Linked DNA regions of Homo sapiens: region 2 is linked to region 1. Evidence: promoter capture Hi-C in 16 types of primary human blood cells and fetal thymus (Javierre and others, 2016). All regions are on one chromosome and are shown on one strand. Each heading gives the region's core, a stretch centred on a gene start or on the middle of the fragment in contact. The rest is flanking DNA. Distances are from core to core; before and after follow the strand shown.

Evidence for each region. The method cuts DNA at HindIII sites, captures the fragments that hold promoters and counts their contacts. A CHiCAGO score of 5 or more calls a contact.
Region 2: a fragment that was not itself captured here is called in contact with the fragment with the promoter of TSHR in region 1 in 1 of 17 cell types (fetal thymus); the score reaches 10.8 in fetal thymus.

What each region holds. Positions count from the first base shown.
Region 1 is chr14:80,953,857-80,957,043 of GRCh38, forward strand. It overlaps TSHR (thyroid stimulating hormone receptor), which reads left to right and starts at 1,765. Exons shown (of 10, transcript NM_000369.5): 1 at 1,765-1,994. The coding sequence starts at 1,825. It also overlaps a transcript of CEP128 not described here. The HindIII fragment of the contact is 2,816 bases long and covers 568-3,187 here.
Region 2 is chr14:81,066,895-81,069,926 of GRCh38, forward strand. It overlaps TSHR (thyroid stimulating hormone receptor), which reads left to right. Exons shown (of 10, transcript NM_000369.5): 3 at 1,360-1,434. The region is part of intron 7 of TSHR-AS1 (TSHR antisense RNA 1); the gene reads right to left. Among named protein-coding and RNA genes, the nearest start is that of TSHR-AS1, 100 kb to the right of the region's middle. The HindIII fragment of the contact is 1,939 bases long and covers 732-2,670 here.

The DNA of each region.
Region 1 (3,187 bases), core at 515-3,014:
TGAATCATTAATATGAATAATTACATATAAATACGTAATATTTTGAGTTTGGCTTTTTTCACTTAACATTATGCATTCAAGATTTGTTCCATAACAATACCATGGTAATTTTTAAAAAAACAACAACAAAAGCCCGGGTGCGGTGGCTCAAGCCTGTAATCCCAGCACTTTGGGAGGCCGAGGCGGGCGGATCACGAGGTCAGGAGATCGAGACCAGCCTGACTAACACAGTGAAACCCCGTCTCTACTAAAATTACGAAAAAATTAGCCGGGCGTGGTGGCGGGCGCCTGTAGTCCCAGCTACTCGGGAGGCTGAGGCAGCAGAATTGCTTGAACCTCGGAGGCAAAGGTTGCAGTGAGCCGAGATCGCGCCATTGCACTCCAGCCTGGGCGACGGAGCAAGACTCCGTTTCAAAAGAAAAAAAAAAAGAAAAGAAAATTTGTGCATGTTGTATCAGCAGTTCATTCATTTTTATTGCAGAATAGTATTCCAATGTGGAGGTATCAGAGTTTGTTTATCCATTATCTAGTCGCGAGACACTTGGTTCGTTTAGTGGTTATGAATAAAGCTTCTGTAAAATTTGGAATACACATATTTTAAATGTACGGTTTAATGAATTTTGATAAATGTATACATCCACTTAACCTCCAGCCTAATTACGATATGGAAACCCTGTGTGTTCCCTCCTGTCTTTTTCTAGTCAATCTTTCCTAACCTTTATTCTGATTCCCATAACCACAACTTTTTCCTTCCTGTCCTAGCCAAGTTCATATAAAAGGAATTATGCAGTATAGAAGGAATTGACATTCCTTTTATCCCAAGAGGAATAAGTGATTGAAGACTTTTAAGAAGGAAATAGGCACAATCTGATTTATGTTTGTAATGATCTTTTTGGCTACTGTGCGAAGAATGGTGAGTATGCCACTTAAGTATTATTTTTCTTCCCATCTTCCAGGGGGAATATGACTCAATGAAATTCTTGGGTCGACCAGAATTTCCATACTGGACCCATTATTAAGGGAACCTGGAATTATTTCTGCCATTCCCGATTCTTCCCAGCAGATGGCCCCAAAGTTCAGTTCCTGAATTGCCTCGCGGAGCCGCGGGCTGCAACGTGAGGCGGCCGCTGCCAGTCGACTCAACCACCGGAGTGGCCCCTGCAGTTGGATAGCAACGAGAATCCTCCAGGGGTGCAGGGCGACGGCTTCGGCCGCACCGCGGGCTAGCCAGGGCTGCGTGCCCGCCTCTGACCCTCAGCAGAGGTGTCTCTGGCCAGGAGGAGCTGAAGTTCTGCAGGACATTGGTCCGCCCGCGGACAGTCCACTCCGCGGGGACTTTCTCTGGATAAGGAGTGCGTGCGAGTGGCTCCCAGGCAGACAGGGTGTCTAGAAGGCTACACGCTAGGGAAGGTGGCTCCTTGGATTTAAAGAGGAGGAAAGGAGGGGGCATCTAAACTAGGCTTTGGAGAGAACTAATGGGAGGGGCGCCCGGGGTGGGGGGGCGGGCTGGAAAACAGAGGGGACAGCCAGGACTGGTGTTGGGTGTCAGGGAACAGACGGAGCGGACTGCGTGGGTCCAGCCAAGGAAAGTGAAGCAAGCAGACTTGTTTGGGTCAAGGTTGCCTAGGGAAGCGGAGCACTTAAGTGCCTCTTTTTCCCCTTCTCCAGCCTCCTCCACAGTGGTGAGGTCACAGCCCCTTGGAGCCCTCCCTCTTCCCACCCCTCCCGCTCCCGGGTCTCCTTTGGCCTGGGGTAACCCGAGGTGCAGAGCTGAGAATGAGGCGATTTCGGAGGATGGAGAAATAGCCCCGAGTCCCGTGGAAAATGAGGCCGGCGGACTTGCTGCAGCTGGTGCTGCTGCTCGACCTGCCCAGGGACCTGGGCGGAATGGGGTGTTCGTCTCCACCCTGCGAGTGCCATCAGGAGGAGGACTTCAGAGTCACCTGCAAGGATATTCAACGCATCCCCAGCTTACCGCCCAGTACGCAGACTCTGTGAGTACCCGGGAGAGATCAGGGTAGGACCCAGAGATCAAGGGCATCTGCAGAGGTGGCCCGAAGTGCACAAAAGCAGCTCAATAACAGCCCGAAGTAGTGTGTGAGTGTGTGTATGTGTGAGTGAATGTCTGTGTGTGTAGATGTGTGTGTGTGCTAAAAACTTAATCGCCCACACTTGGGAAGGTATCATTGTTGACATCCTCATTCCCAACACAGGAAAATGTTACAAAACTTTGGTGTACAATGACCGTGAGAGCTGTTCTTTCCAACAAGCTGCTATTCAGCACTTTGCCTAACCCTGGTTGAATCTGTTTTATTTGAATTAATAAGGATAATGGCATCTCAGGAACTGACCTTTTTGATCTTACCTTGGGTAATAAAAAATTGCAAAAATATGTATTTCTCCTTTTTGTTTCTCTAGATGGGAGGTTATCTTAGCAGTTCTGCTGATTCATCAAATTGTTGACAAAGGTTTAAGCAGGGGCCCTTTTTAAAATGAACTGTCTATACAGTATCTGTAAGTTACTTACTCAAATGTGAACTGCCAGTGAAATAGTACGTCCAGAACCCTGCTTTGTGATAGAGGTATAAAGAAATGAAATTTCATAAAAGTATAGTACATTTATCTGCATGTTAAATGTTACCAGATTAGAAACCTGATGTTAAATAAGATTATACACACACAACCTGTTTCTTAACAGCAATTTAAATCAGTGATCATTGAAATTGTAGACAAAACCAAGGGAATAAAGTCTGTCTTGATTAGTTAAAAAGAGAACAGAAAGAAAGGACAGTAAAACAACCTAGGCTGGTTAAATCCAGTTAAGATAAAAAAAAATGCAGGTTATTAAAGAAAATGTTGATAGATGAAAAGAAATGGGAAAGTTGCACCTCTAGATTTTCTCAAGAATTTAGCTCATGAAGACTATTTAACAGTAGATGAATATTTGAGCACAGAGATATATTTCTGTGCTCAGAGATATCCTAGTGTCTTAGCACACCTGAATTAATTAGTTCAATAACCTCCAAACAGTGTGGTAGTCATTCTCCATGCTGCCACCACAGAATAAGATGTGTAAAAGGTGTAATGGCCTCTTGATTACACCTCTACATAGGTTGCTTGTCACCTCTAGAATAAAATTCTTTTGTGCAGCCTACCAGATCTTTCAAGACCTAGTCAAGTCTTTCCA
Region 2 (3,032 bases), core at 451-2,950, 110 kb after region 1:
GAAAGTGGTCATTGAATTTGGCTGCATTAGTCATTCTCATTACAAGATGGAATTTGAGGAAACTATTTGAAATATTCCTTATATGTTCTTGACAAGTTGTATTTAGGAATTTCTCTGTTTTCCTTTTTCAGTACTTGAAGCTTTTATTTGAATTACTTTTTGCTTACAAAGTTTAAGACGGAGCTTGAATTTTCAGCTTCATTTAAAATCATGAAGAGAAGTCTTAAGGGAGTATGTCGTCAACCTGTGGAATGTTCCACTAGAGAATTGCGATTTTCTCTTCATCTTTGAAACTACATGTCTAATTCCATGTTATTAGACATTCCATTAAAAATGCTTCTTATTGACTCTAGTGTTCTTTTCTGATGCTCATGTTTTTTTGCTATTTTGAGGAACTCTTCTATTCATTCAGTTGTTTAATAAGAGTCGACAACATGCCAAGCACTCTGAAAGGCACTCAAGATTCAGTGGCCAAAAACAGGCACAGTTCTGCATTTCAGAGAACTTACAGTCTAGTGAGACAACAGAAATATCACCCAAAGAACTGGAAATTTGCACTCTGATAATTAGTGAAAGGAGTTTATAGTTTTATATATATATATATATATATAGTGATATATCACTATATATAATCCCTATATATACACCATATATACATATGTATGGCAGGTTCAATTCAAACTATAGGTCAGTGGTTCTCAACATTGCCTACACATTAGAATCAGCTAAGAAGCTTTTGAAAAATAAAAGTATTTGACTCATCCTTCATAAACTCTGATTTAATTATCCTAGACCAGGTCTTGGACATCTGTGTATTTTAAAGGAAATAGAAGAGTTCCTTTAAAATGGAAGAGTTCCTCAAAATAGCAAAAATAAAATAAAATAAAATAAAAGCAAGCATCAGAAAAGAACACTAGAGTGAATAAGAAGCATTTTTAATGGAATGTCTAGTAACACGGAATTAGACACGTAGTTTCAAAGAAGATGAAGAGAAAACCTCAATTCTGTAGTGGAACATTCCACAGGGTGACACTATATATATATATATATATATATATATCGCTAAATATGCATATGGGAAATTTTAATCAGGGAGTTTGGGGAAAGTTTCTGAAGGAAGTGACAGTTAAATGATAATTTCAGATAAATAGGAGTTAATATACAGGAGGAATTCAGGTATCACAAGATCTGAAAAAAAAAGTAGTAAGTAATTTTAACATAATTTGGCAGAATCCATGAGGGTTGTACATGTTGCATGATCTGGGAAGCGCATAACAAAAAGTTATGTCAAAAATAGTATGTTTGAAGTTTACAACCTTACTAACTTTCTACTTTGTCTTATATTTTTCTGACATTCAGCTACGTATCTATAGATGTGACTCTGCAGCAGCTGGAATCACACTCCTTCTACAATTTGAGTAAAGTGACTCACATGTAAGTACAAGGAAAAGTGCAGCATAGACCTAAGCCACAACCACTCTTGACTGATAATCTTGGGGCTCCAGATGGCAATGGGAGCTGGTTTCTTGATTGTGAGTCAAAACTTCTGTTTATGATTAAATTATTAACCTGTTCTCATTCTCAGTTCATGTTAATTCATCTTCATTACACCTCAATTCCATGGTTGGAAGTTAAAGACAACATTAAAAGTTCTGTTCTTGAACCACTATCTGTTCTATTACTACTGTGTCAGCATATTTTATTGATGTGAATGTCAGTGAGACAATAGGTATTTACTGAGTAACTACTTGATTCTATGGTCTGTGCAAGATTCTACAAAGCTGGCATATTTTCCTTAATTCGGAAAGAGAAGAGTTGCTTGGTGAGATTAGAATAGTAGGGAATTTAATAACCCTAGTTCTGGAGTTGGTCAGAGTTGGATTTGAACACCGGCATCTCTGCCTACTCATTATCTACCCTTGGACAAGTCACATAATCTTTCCTAGTCTCATTTGCAAAATAAGTGTAATAAGAGCTGCAACTTCATGTTTATCATAAATATGGAATTATATAATATCTAGCACCTGAAAACCAGTCAATATACCATTCAAAAATAGAATAATTTTTCTATTTCGCTAGTAGATTACAATCTATAAAAAGTGTTACATAAATAATCACATTGCATTATTTTAAGTAGCTATGTATTACTAATCATGAACTCTATTTTCTTGATGAAGAAACAAAAATACTTATCTACAAATACTTAGTATATCCTAACATTACATTAAACATTGTATGAACATTATTTGTTTGGTTATTATTTACCTCTTAAAACAACCCTGTGAAGTAAATACAATTATTTCCATTATTTATATAAGAAAAACATAAATGCAGAGAGACTAAATATGTTTTCCTTGGTCGCACAGTTACCAAGGGACAGGGCCACAATCTTTATACCATAAATGTATGACTTAAAAATTCTTCCCTATCCACTACATTAAGATGCTTTCAAGAATACTGAGGTCCAAGATATTGCTTACAAGTATGGTAGGCTACCTTACATCAGATCAACTATTGGTCTGAGAATAACTTAAGGAGCTGAATTTTTAAAAAAATGTTTGAAAGTATTAGAGTGTTATGAAGACAGTAAGAACTCAATGGGCAATAAGCAAATCCCAAAAACATCATTTGGTTATTTTCCCTTGAGGTATTTCCTGAATTGTAAGCAAAAGCTTAAGGGCTAAGAAACTGACCAGAGGTTTAGGCATCTATTAGGGCTAGGAAAATAAAACTCTGAGTTCCGGGCTTGCTAAGAAGGATTGTTCCTAGTAAACAATCCAGGATTTTGGTTGAGATCACTAAAGAGCTTCATCCTAGAAGTATGGGAAAACTGTGACTAGATCAGCCCTTGCAAAGACTAAAGCCTAGCTTTGAATCAATAAAAAATAACTCGAGTTTGTGGGGCAAAAAAATCAAGAGAAGAAAATAGACAATAGAAAATGATCCATAGGAAGTTCAAATATTGGTTATCAGACACAGACTTTAAAATAACTAACATGTTCAAAAATTTAAATGGCAAGAGAAAATTTCAG